Linked DNA regions of Homo sapiens: region 1 is linked to region 2. The links are contacts of gene promoters, found by promoter capture Hi-C in blood cells and fetal thymus (Javierre and others, 2016). All regions are on one chromosome and are shown on one strand. The core of a region is centred on a gene start or on the middle of the fragment in contact, and the rest is flanking DNA. Distances in the headings are between cores, read along the strand shown. Region 1 holds the start of NTSR1 (neurotensin receptor 1). Region 2 holds the start of MIR1-1HG (MIR1-1 host gene).

The links. The method cuts DNA at HindIII sites, captures the fragments that hold promoters and counts their contacts. A CHiCAGO score of 5 or more calls a contact.
Region 1: the fragment with the promoter of NTSR1 here is called in contact with the fragment with the promoter of MIR1-1HG in region 2 in 2 of 17 cell types (neutrophils and M1 macrophages); the score reaches 7.3 in neutrophils.

Annotation. Positions count from the first base shown.
Region 1 is chr20:62,705,740-62,711,699 of GRCh38, forward strand. NTSR1 (neurotensin receptor 1) reads left to right here and starts at 3,097. Exons shown (of 4, transcript NM_002531.3): 1 at 3,097-4,182. The coding sequence starts at 3,469. RefSeq lists enhancers at 2,061-2,574, 2,575-3,087, 3,297-3,843, 3,844-4,388. The HindIII fragment of the contact is 3,349 bases long and covers 1,916-5,264 here.
Region 2 is chr20:62,546,864-62,552,390 of GRCh38, forward strand. It overlaps MIR1-1HG (MIR1-1 host gene), which reads left to right and starts at 3,590. Exons shown (of 4, transcript NR_171007.1): 1 at 3,590-4,175. It overlaps CRMA (cardiomyocyte maturation associated lncRNA), which reads right to left and starts at 4,698. Exons shown (of 7, transcript NR_033263.1): 1 at 4,563-4,698; 2 at 1,449-1,598; 3 at 964-1,137; 4 at 685-839. RefSeq lists an enhancer at 3,677-4,552. The HindIII fragment of the contact is 7,236 bases long and covers 2,069-5,527 here.

The sequences.
Region 1 (5,960 bases), core at 1,847-4,346, 160 kb after region 2:
CATGGGACCGGCCGGCTCCTCAACAGGCAGCATTGGGAGTGTTGGGATCGGGGCAGCAGGTCCCCAAGGCTCTCCAACTTGCAGGAGACACTCGCCCCCGGAGCCCTGCCCCCCACAAGGCGTGCCCGACTTCACGTGTCAGTGAAGGCATCCGGCTGGCCAAGGGTGTGGCTGCATCCCCAATGGGCATGACCGGACCTGGCCTGTCCCTTCCCAAGCACCTCACCGGCACTTTCTTTAAAGAGTCTCAGCTGTTTAGGAAGGGCTTCTGTCTGCAGAAATCAGAAGAGAAAGGGGCAAACAACGTGGAGTTAAGAGCTTCCAGCCGCTGAGCCATCCGGTTTGTGAGTGCACAGAAGAGCTCAGAACGGCCGAGCGGCGTGGCTGCCAGGGGTCCCCACCGGAGGCCTGCCATCTGCCTTGTGTAGAACAAGGCCTTCCAAGTGACATTTTCCTATGTGGTTTTAAGCAAATGCTCCAACACAATATTTGCACTATGTTGCCTTTTATGATTTTGTAAGCTCCCAGGCCAACTCACAGATAAATCTTTGAAAATAAGGGCAGCTTAGCCAAAAGGTCAGGGGTTTAAAAACCAAACAATGAGCTTAGGCAGAGGGAGAGCACAATCGCTGCATCCTCCTGCTTTGGCTGGCAGAGGGACAGACTCCAGTGGCCATTGCTGTGGACTTCCTCTTTGTGGGGGTCTCGACAGAGGCGCCTGATGGCCCAGCCCGTGGTCAGGCCCCAGTGTTACCAAGACAGTGGTGAGCGCCTGGACCTCACACTGTCCAGCACCTGTACTCCCTGGCATGGTGTGGATGCTAAGGTCCCCGCCCAAACCTCTGTACTTGGCCGGGCGCAGTGGCTCACGCCAGCAATCCCAGCACTTTGGGAGGCCAAGGCGGGTGGATCACGAAGTCAGGAGATGGAGACCATCCTGGCTAACATGGTGAAATCCTGTCTCTACTAAAAATACAAAAAAATTAGCGCCTGTAGTCCCAGCTATTCGGGAGGCTGAGGCAGGAAAATGGCGAGAACCTGGGAGGCGGAGCTTGCAGTGAGCCAAGATCGCGCCACTGCCCTCGAGCCTGGGTGACAGAGCGAGACTCCATCTCAACAAATAAAAAAAATAAAAAAATAAAAAAACCTGTGTACTTAACTGGTGAATCGTGTCTTCCAGAGGACAAATCTGGCCTACTCCAGCCTATTCTAGTTGGATGGAACACCTCACCTCACACCCGACAGCCCATTCGACCTCGTTCATTCCCCGTGGAGACCCATCAGTAACAGCCCTGCCCTTCATTCAGCCGCTATTCCCATTTTACAGACGACTCAATCGAGGCACAGAGACGCTAAGCACACTCGCCCAAATGTGAAGTAGCAGGGCCAACATTCAATCCTATCTACTGGCTTCCAGCAAAGGGATCACTGGCGTTTCCTTTGATGCCAAGATTTCTAAGCTCTGATGTTTGTGAGCTGCAGCCCCCTGACAAGAGTATCAGGCTCCGGTTGAACAGAGAAGTCCAAAGCAGGGCGAGAACGGACGAATAATCACAGAGTCCCGCTGCCAGCCACCGGCTCAGAAGCCTTGAATTCTCCTAGCTGGGCGGGCCCGGGAGGGGGTTCCTCAGCCTCCCGCTTCCCTCAACACCCTGCGACCCCCGCCCCAGCCTGCCCAGGTTTCCTGCTCCCAGCACAGCAGGTGCAGCCAGCCATGTGCACAAAGGCCAGGCTGGTTCCCTGGGCTGCACTCGAGCAGCTCCTCCCAGCCCTGCACACATGGGGCAGCAGCTCTACCCAACCTCTCCCAGGGGTTCTGGGGAGGAGGGAGCAGGGGAGGGGGCGGGGAGGGCCCAGAGAAGGGACAGTAGTGCCCTGGGGGCCCCTGGGCAACCCAGACATGGAGGGGGGGGCAAGCTTGTGCCTGGCCACCTATGCCAGTGCCACCAGGTGCTGGGGGGGACACGGAAAGGACAGGAATCTTGCCCTCACCTGGCTCCCGAGCCAGGGGCCGGGGCACCCTGTGAGGACACTCAGAGGGAGGGAGTGTGCAAAGCCTGCAGGGCCTGGGAGGATGCGTGCTGGGGCTGCCTCTCCCAAATCCTGCTGGGGCGCAGGCTCTCAGGGTGGCTTCTGATGACAAATCCAGGCAGTAATAAGGGGCCCAGGGCATCACATCCCATAGCGTCATGAGACCAGCCCAGGGTGCCAGATGCAGGGCCCTGAGTGGGGAGGGTGCTGCTCTGGGCACCTGCTTTCTGCCCTCCCTCATTCACCCCTCCCCAGACTTTGATGAAACCATCTGTGGCTCCCGGCCTCTGCAGGACCCAGCCCCTCAGCTCCTCAGCCCCTGCAGGTGTCCCTCGGTACTGCCTCACGCCATCCTGCCCCAGGTGATAACTATGCCCTGAGCCCCCACCATTTCCACTGGGCACATCCCAGAAATACGCATTCACAGACCAGGCACGCCCATGACTGCGGCCAGATTTTAAAAGGAATCACCAGAAATGTAATCTCCAGTGGTCCTAGAGCCCCCTGGGCACCCAGCTTCTGGCACCCTGTGGACACCCAGGAGTGGGGGTCGGCCCAACCAGCTGCGCAGCCGCCCAGCCCTGCCAGCGGGGAGCTTCCTCCCTCCCTGCCCTCCGGATACACCCTCACCCCAACTGAGCGAGCCCAGGGTTGGGGGAGGTGCATAGTTCCCTTCCTAGCCGGTGCGAGAAATTGCGGAGAACAGGGAAGAGGGTGGCAGGAAGGGTCTGGTGCACGATACCCGCCGCGCCCGCTCGGAATCCTGGTTCCCTGGAGCGCTCACCCCAGCCCGCCCTGCCCCGGGGAGCGCGAGGGGGCGACCCGCCAGGCTGCACCCGGGCGGGGCGGGGATGGCGGCGGGGGCTGCCTCCCTCCTCCGCCGCCACCCCCCACTGCTGGGCGCGCCGCGCGGCCGCCGGCTCCGTGGAGACGCGCAGAGCCGGGAGGGCGCGGGCGCGGCGGGAGGTGTGCGGGGCTGGGGTGCGCGGAGAGCGCGAGGGAGGAGATTCTGAGCGAGGGAGGGGAGCGCGCCCGGGCAGCAGTGCGTGCGCTCCTCCCGGCGCCACAAGCTCGCCCCGCGCAGCCCGAGCCGGGCTGGGCGCTGTCCTCGGGGGCCTGGGGAACCGCGCGGTTTGGAGATCGGAGGCACCTGGAACCCGTGGCAAGCGCCGAGCCGGGAGACAGCCCGAGGAACCACGGGTTCTGGAGCTAGGAGCCGGAAGCTGGGAGTCCGGAGGAGAGCGGAGCCCGGAGCCCGGAGCCCGGGGCGGCGCGTCTGGGTCTGGCGCTTCCCGACTGGACGGCGCGCCCGCTGGTCTTCGCCACGCGCCCTCCCCTGGGCTCCCGTTCATCGGTCCCCGCCTGAGACGCGCCCACTCCTGCCCGGACTTCCAGCCCCGGAGGCGCCGGACAGAGCCGCGGACTCCAGCGCCCACCATGCGCCTCAACAGCTCCGCGCCGGGAACCCCGGGCACGCCGGCCGCCGACCCCTTCCAGCGGGCGCAGGCCGGACTGGAGGAGGCGCTGCTGGCCCCGGGCTTCGGCAACGCTTCGGGCAACGCGTCGGAGCGCGTCCTGGCGGCACCCAGCAGCGAGCTGGACGTGAACACCGACATCTACTCCAAGGTGCTGGTGACCGCCGTGTACCTGGCGCTCTTCGTGGTGGGCACGGTGGGCAACACGGTGACGGCGTTCACGCTGGCGCGGAAGAAGTCGCTGCAGAGCCTGCAGAGCACGGTGCATTACCACCTGGGCAGCCTGGCGCTGTCCGACCTGCTCACCCTGCTGCTGGCCATGCCCGTGGAGCTGTACAACTTCATCTGGGTGCACCACCCCTGGGCCTTCGGCGACGCCGGCTGCCGCGGCTACTACTTCCTGCGCGACGCCTGCACCTACGCCACGGCCCTCAACGTGGCCAGCCTGAGTGTGGAGCGCTACCTGGCCATCTGCCACCCCTTCAAGGCCAAGACCCTCATGTCCCGAAGCCGCACCAAGAAGTTCATCAGCGCCATCTGGCTCGCCTCGGCCCTGCTGGCGGTGCCTATGCTGTTCACCATGGGCGAGCAGAACCGCAGCGCCGACGGCCAGCACGCCGGCGGCCTGGTGTGCACCCCCACCATCCACACTGCCACCGTCAAGGTCGTCATACAGGTGAGCCTCAGTAACCAGCCCCGGGGCTCCCCTCTCCTTCACCCCAAAAGCAGTGCCAGTGGTGTGCCTTCTGGGTAGGGAGTGGGAGAGATGTCACAGAGACAGTCTACTCCTGCGAGGCTGGGAAGGCGGTTGGGGCAGCTTGGGGGCAGCTCCAGAGTTGCCAGGCTCAGCCCCTATCTTCTTCCCTCCTGTTGAGGGGATGGAGCCCCTGCCTGTGACCTCTCTGGTGTTGGTGGCTGGGCCTCGGACATCTCTGAATTCCTTAAGCCTAATGGAAACATGTGCGCTGGCACCTGCGTCTCCAAAGGAAGAGTAACACTTTCATCAGCTTCTCAAAAGACTGTGCCACCAACAGGTGATGTTCCTTCCTCTGCAGAGAAGCCCCCAGACTGGCTCTGCCGGTGCCTCCCAGCTGCCTGCCCTGACCCAAACTTGGGAGTCAGAACAGAACCTGATGCCGTGTTGGGCCAGTTCCTAGTTTAGCCTCAGCTTTCCCATCTGTGTGATGGGGTAGTGATAGCATTGACCTCAGAAGGTAGAGCATTGGAGAGAGGACGCGTGGGAAGTGTTTGCATGGCCCCTGACACATAGAAGGGCTCACAGGCACTATTATTGCGGGATGGTGGGGACGATGTTTCTGCGGGGAAGGTTGTGAGGATCTGCGTGTGGCGGCGGTGTTGTGGTGAGGTGTGTAAAACTGGAGCCGAGTGACTAAGGGCCCTCCAAGGGTCTGAGCAAAGCGCCGTGGGAATGCGGGTGGGAAGCCCCCTTGGGAATCAGTTTGGCTGAGGTTCGTGGCACGGGGGGTTCCAGTGCTGGAGGGGAGGGCTGATCAAACCAAAGCCCCGAGCAGGAGGCTGGTGTCCAGGGAGGAAGTCAGGGCCGGTCGGGAACTTTGAAAGGCATCTTGGAAATGAGCAGCCTTAGAAGTGTGGGGTTTCCTCCATTTCTGGTGGGCTAAGGAAGCCAGAGGGTGAAGGATCCGGGCAGAGTCGCCTACCTCTGCCCAGCTAGAGGGGCCAGGGTGGCTGGCTGTCCCCCCAACTCCCCACACACCAGCATCGCCAGCCTCCCAGCTAAGCTTCTGTAGTTGCCTGGGCACCCCGCGTATGCCAGTATGCCCGGTGGGGGTGAGGGCAGCAGTGCCGGGCAGGGGGTCACCTGTCTGTCACTCCCTGGGCCCTAACTGACCCTCCACTGGCCACCACCCAGGTGGGCTGGGGGGTGGAGGAGGGTAGAACTGAGCTCCCAGTCTCCCTGGCTGCACATAGAACTGGTGGCTACAGGTGTCCCATCTCGGGGAGGCCCCTCCCACAGACACTGGTGGCAGGCAGTGAGTCAGGGCTGCTTTGCTTCTGCGGCGAGAGTCCCTCCCCTCACCAGAGGCAGAAGTAGGCACGGCCTGTGGGGTAAACACAGTGAGAAATGACCTCTCCCTCCCTTTGAGGCTTTATCTGCTCTCCCCAAGCTCCTGTCTTTGATTGGCATTGGCCAGGGGGAACCTCTCCCCAGTCCGCGTGGAGGGGCCCCAGGGGCGACAGCCACTCAGTCCTTCAGAAGGTGGGCAGTGGAGGGGTCAGCGCTGTCACTGCCCACCCAGGAGATGCCCCCACTCAGACCCCGGATCCCCCCACTCAGACCCCCGATCCCCCCGCTCAGATCCCCGATCCCCCCGCTCAGAACCCCGATCCCCCTGCTCCCCTGGCAAAAGGCCAGGAGCTCACCAGCCTCCTGCAGTCCTCAAAAACAAACAGCCGAAAAGCACAGGGGCGTGA
Region 2 (5,527 bases), core at 2,340-4,839:
GACAGACAAGGATGTAGGGGCAGGAAGATAGGCTCTGGGTCTTCGCGTGCTGGGCAACTGGCTTTTCCTCCTGAGCCTCAGTTTCCCCACCTACAAAATGGTCTCAGAAGGCTCCCTGGTGACGGGCCGTCCCCCTCCTAGGGATGCACTCTGTTCCTCAGGGCCCAGGCCATCTGACATCCCCCCTTGCTCTTGTGACCACATCTGCTCCAACAGTGAATCTTTCGGGCAAACTTTCAAGGCACAGCCAGAGCTGGGCAGCCCTCCCCAGGGCACCGCAGCTGGGCAGGGCCCCTGATGCTCCAGCCTCTGCCCTCCACCCTCACCCTCAGCAGATAAGCCATAAGGACCCTGCTATAGCCGTGCCAGCCTGCCCAGGCCTGTGCCCCTCAGCAGGACACCTGCAGCCCTGGCACTGGCCTACAAGGCCTGACGTGGTCTGACCCTGCCCGAAGCCCAGCCCCAGGCCACCCATCCACTGCCACTGCCCCAGTGGCAGCCATGCTGGCCTCCTGCTGCCCGCTGGACACACCAGGCCCCCCTTCCCGCCTCCGGGCTCCTGCCTTCCTGTACACACTCCCCGGGGTGCTCTTCCGGGACCCTTCCCCGCCTGCCCCTCTGACATCACTGGGGGGCCTGTTCATTCACCCCCACCCAGGCCTTCCCTGACCTCTGACCTCTGACCTGCAAGGCGGGACTCCAGGCCCTGCCCCCTGCTCCCCGGCTGCTCCTTCCGGCCCCCATGCCTGGCGCTGGGCCTGTCTCCACATTCCCTGGGCTGTGCATTTTCTCTCTCCCCCGCTGTCCCATACGGCGCCAGCTACATGAGCCTCCTGAAGCTGAAACAAATCAAAGCTGCACTGACTAAAAAATCCAGGTCTGCAGGGGCACCAGCCCCGTTTCTGAGAGCTTGGCAGCCACCGTGGCCAGTGGGAGCCGTGTGAGACAGGGCAGAGCACTCACCGTCATGGCGTGTTCCACCGGACGGGGCCTCGTGGTCAGCCCCGCAAGGGCGGGGTGAGCCTGCTTGTCCCCTGCTTGGGTCCTTGCTCAGGCGTCCCTGTGGGGCGAGGGCTGTGGTGGCCTTGCTGTCGGGGCTTACTGCTTGCTCCTTCATTCATTCACGCCTTAAACCACCTGCAGACACCAAGGGGAAAGTCTCGGGGGCCTAGGCCCTTCTCCCCTCTCTTCCCCTTCTGCCCCCTCTACCCCGTCTCCCCCTTCTCTCCCCTCTCCCCTCCCTCCCGTCTCTCCTACCCACTGCGGTCTCCCTTTCAAATCATGGTGGAGTGGGCCACGGGCAGCACGGCCCTGGGCCGTCAGGGGCGAGGGCTATGGGCTCTGACTTTACTGCCCTGGCGAGGACAGCCGTGGACATGGTGGGGGCCAGAACACACCCAGCTCCGATCAGTGCTTGGTATGGGACCTTGGGAGAGTGAGGCACCCACCCTGAGCCCACGTTCCTTCTCCGTAAAGTGGGGACAGCAAAATGCTCTCCTCTTAGGGATGCCTTGAGTGCAGCATAGAGCCCCTGCAGAAGCTTCTGGAACACCAGGCAGCCTAAGTGCTGTGTGCCGGCTGTTACTGTGAGGCTGGTGCTATGGGTAAACGGGGGAACTGCTCTGTCTTCTGGCTCTGTCCTACGGCCTGGGGGCTGTCAGATCTGGCCACCCACACCAGCCCTTCTCCTGGAAGGAGATGGCCCTGTGCCCGTGCCCTGGTCCGTGGGTGTGGGGCTGCCGTGAGGAGGGTGATTTATGGCCACGTCTGCTGCATACCCTCTCTCTCACCACCACAAAGCACCCGCATCCTTTACAGAGCCGCCTGCCCAGGCCTGCAGACTGCTCCCCACCTCCCCCATTGTGGCTGTCTATGCCCCTGACCCCAGCTGCAGGCCTGGCCTGCCCCCCTCAACCCTGCCTGGAGACGGCAGGCAGGAGGAAGTGGGCTGCAGGGGAGGGGCCTTGCAGGGGGAGTTTGGACACCACACCTCACACCACGCTCTCCCGCTGCCAGTGGGAAGCCGAGTGGCTATTTAGTTTCCAGAAAAGTGCTCAGACCAGGTAGAAGCTTAAAACCTCCTGGCCTCCTTTATGGTGAGACATGGGGTCTTTAGCGGGGCGTACAGGGCTGGGAGAAGGGCCTGGCATCACTCAAGAAGCCTCTGCACTGGGCAGGTGCAGGGGGCGTCCCTCTGTCCCTCGCTGTCGCTGGCCGGAGGACACCAGAGTGGGTGTCGGCGTGTGTGGCGAGTGTGGCTGGGGCTCCGGCTTCTCCCCATGACTCTGCAGAGCCGGCCTTGGGATGTGGGGAAGGGGCCGTGAGCCCAGGAGGTGAACCTGGAGGAGAGCCCTGCCTCAGCTCCTGTGGGCCAGCCTGGGGGGTGTGCAGGCTCCTCAGGGGCTCCCCTGGGATTAGATGCAGCTGAGCCTGTTCTGAGCGGCATAGACTCCCCGGCCCTGTGTCCCTAACTGGCCAGAACCACAAGGGGATGCCTTCCTAAGTCCGGGAGGCACTGGGGACATTTATGAGGTGGCTTCTGAACAGGAGGACCTATGCTCTGGACAGGACTCACAAATACCAAAGCTCATTGTCCCCATCACACGGGCCTGTGCCTGCCACCAACGAGCGGGGTCCCCGGACCACTGTGGTCCACTGTCATTCCACGACCTGGTCCCCAGTCCTGTGGGGCCCCAGAGAGATGGGACGACCAGCCAGCGTCACACAGCCTGTGAGGACAGTCTGCCAGTTCAGGCCTCTGGTCTCTGCGTCCAGGCCCTGCAAGGACAGATCCCCGTCAGGCCCCGTCCCAGGCCCTCGTCTGTTACATAATTCGGGCGTGAAATCCCGGAAGGGGGAGCTCCTGAGCCCGTCCAGCACCCGGGATTGGGGTCTCCCCATCACACACCCTTGGTGGCAGGGCCTGGCTGGGGGCGGCAAGCAGGTTGACCTTGCCTCTGTCCAAGGCGACTGGCATTTGTCATGACTTGGGGTTGGCTTGAGAGTCTCCGGAAACCCAGGTGGCTCTGTCACCACCTGATCCTGGCCCCAATTCTAGGCAAAAGGGCAGAGCCGATGGGACTGTGGAGGGGGCCACCCACTCCTGGTGGCCTGGGTGGGCTCAGCCCACTGGAGGCTCAGAGCAGCGAAGGAGGCCGTACCATTCTGCCCGCCCCCCCCACCCCCGGCCCTGCAGCCTGGGAGATGCCCGGGTCTCCCCAGGGCACCCTAGGAGCCGGCTGGCATGGCATGGAGGCTGCTGCCCGGCTACTGAGGAGGCGCCTCTGTACTGGCTGGGCTAAAAATAGCGGGGGGATCTCGGGCAGGGACAGCCGGTGGGAGGCCTGTCAGGGAGGGGCCGGGAGGGGCAGGACAGCAGCCTGAGCCCGGGACCCGCCGTCAATGGCGTGGGTGCTCCCACCCTGTTCCCGGTGGCCGGGCCAGCCGCGGCCCAGCTGACAGGCTATTTTTTCCCCTGCTTGACTAAATATGGTCAGGGAGCGCAGCCCGAGGGGGCCACTTGGCCAGGGCCGCGTGTTTGGGATGCTTGGCCGGGTATATAAGAACTGCAAAGGTGAGGCCGGCTCCTGACCCGAGGGGGGCCCCCACGCCCGCTCTGGCCTCTCAGGTCAGGCCCTCCCCTCCCCTCCCCTCCCCTCCCCCGCCCCTGTGTCTCCGCGAGCCGGCTGTGTGCCTGCGAGAGCGTGCACACCCGCGGGACCTTCCCTTTTGTTCCACCCTGACCTCTACCTTCTCTACCTTGTGCTGACCCCGCTGGGGTGCAGGGGTTCCCTTCGGAGGAGGCCGGGGCTCAAGGTGTGCAGCTCGGCCGCCTCTCCCTAACTCTGCACCAGCGCCTTCTCTCTCTCTCTCTCTCTCTCTCTCTCTCTCTCTCTCTCTCAAGATCTCCCTCCTGCTAAGTCTGCGCTGCTGCAGGAGGGCTGGGGGAAGGGCAGGGGTGTGGAGAGGGGGTGCCTGGTGTCTTCTTTCTCTCTCTGCCCCCACCAAGTGCGGACGCATCGAGCTTCGGCCCCCACCCCTGCATTCGCGATTGGCTCCCGGAGGAGGTGGCTGGTGCTGCCGCCGCTGCAGCATCTCCTAGGGAGCCGCGACCCTGCGCCCGCCGCCGCTGCCGCTGTCACCAGCCCGGCCCCAGGGGTGCCCTGGGCTCCGCGGTGAGTCCTGCTCAGCCCATCACCACCGCTGGGCCGCCGGGACGGCCCCTGCAAACTTGCCGGGCACCGCGGTGGGGGGTGTGCCTGCCAGCGAGGTGGGTGCTGCGGGTGCCGGCGCCGTGCGGCTCCGGCGGGGGTGCCGTGGAGTTTTCTCTTGGCTCGCGGCATCATCCACATTTGGAAAACTGCAGAGCCAGCAGCCGGCAGGGCCTGGAGGGCGCGTCCAGCTGGGAGGCAGGAACTTTGACTTGCGGGCATTTTGCAAGAAAGCAGCGGCCCCCCACGCGGGCAGTGGATGGCATGGGGGCTTCGGGGCTGGGCTGGGGGCGCGATTCACCTGCCGCTCCGCAACAAAGCCCCGGCAGCCGGGCGTGGGGCTAAACTTACCTTGAACTTGCAGTATCCCCCACTGAGGTGCTGGTGGGGGGCAGGGATTCCCGAGCTGAGCGGCGGCGAGGCTGCCCCCGGCCGGGACTCGGCACTTCTGCAGCTCTCCCAGCCACGTCAGGGTCAGGAGGCGTTTACAGGGGCAGGGCGGCGAGGTGGGGGGCGGGGGGCACATGTGGGCGGAGACTAGGGGGGCTTCGGGGAGAGCAGCCCTGGTGGTCGGCGTCTGTGCAGGTCCCTGCTGGGGAGCTTGACTTCCCGCGTGGCCTCCCGCGGCGCTGATGCCGGGGGCCGGGCGGTATTCACCGCTGAAGAGCCCCGGAGGAGGCCCCGGGCACAGGAGCCAGCTCGGCTCACGGTGGGGTCTGCTTGGAGGCGGCTGGGTGCTCTTTTTCTATGCAGACGGGAAACTTTTTGAAAAGTGACTACAATTCATTTGTGAGTGGGCAGAAGTCCTGTGGACTCTGGCTGGGTCTGGGGTGACTCTCCTGCCCTTTGGGACTCCCAGCTTTCCCCTTGACCCCCAGACCCCGTCCAGATGAATGCCTCACAGGTCGTGGGGGCTTGAGCCAGGCTGCGGGAGTGTCCCAGGCTCTGAGAGCTCATGTGCCAGGGAGCTGGGGACGTTGAGGAGGCCTTTTCCCTGGACTCCGGGGACGGTTATTGCGGAGGTCTTGGGAGGGCACAGATGAGCGGCGGAACCCAGGTGCCCCCGAAGTTGAAGCTCAGGCTGCGGTGTCGGGTGCCCTTTTTGTATCCTTGGCTACGTGAAAATGATAAATCACAGCAGCTACGTGGAAATGGGACATCAGCTTCTGCTTCTGTCTGCCATTTGCTCCTTCCTTTGTAGAGGGGATGCCTCCAGAGCCTTAAGCACAACCCCCACCCCCCGCCCCCACCCACCCCCACGTGAAACTCCAACCCAGCCATGCCCAGCTGCAGACCCACTGCCACACAGCCACAGC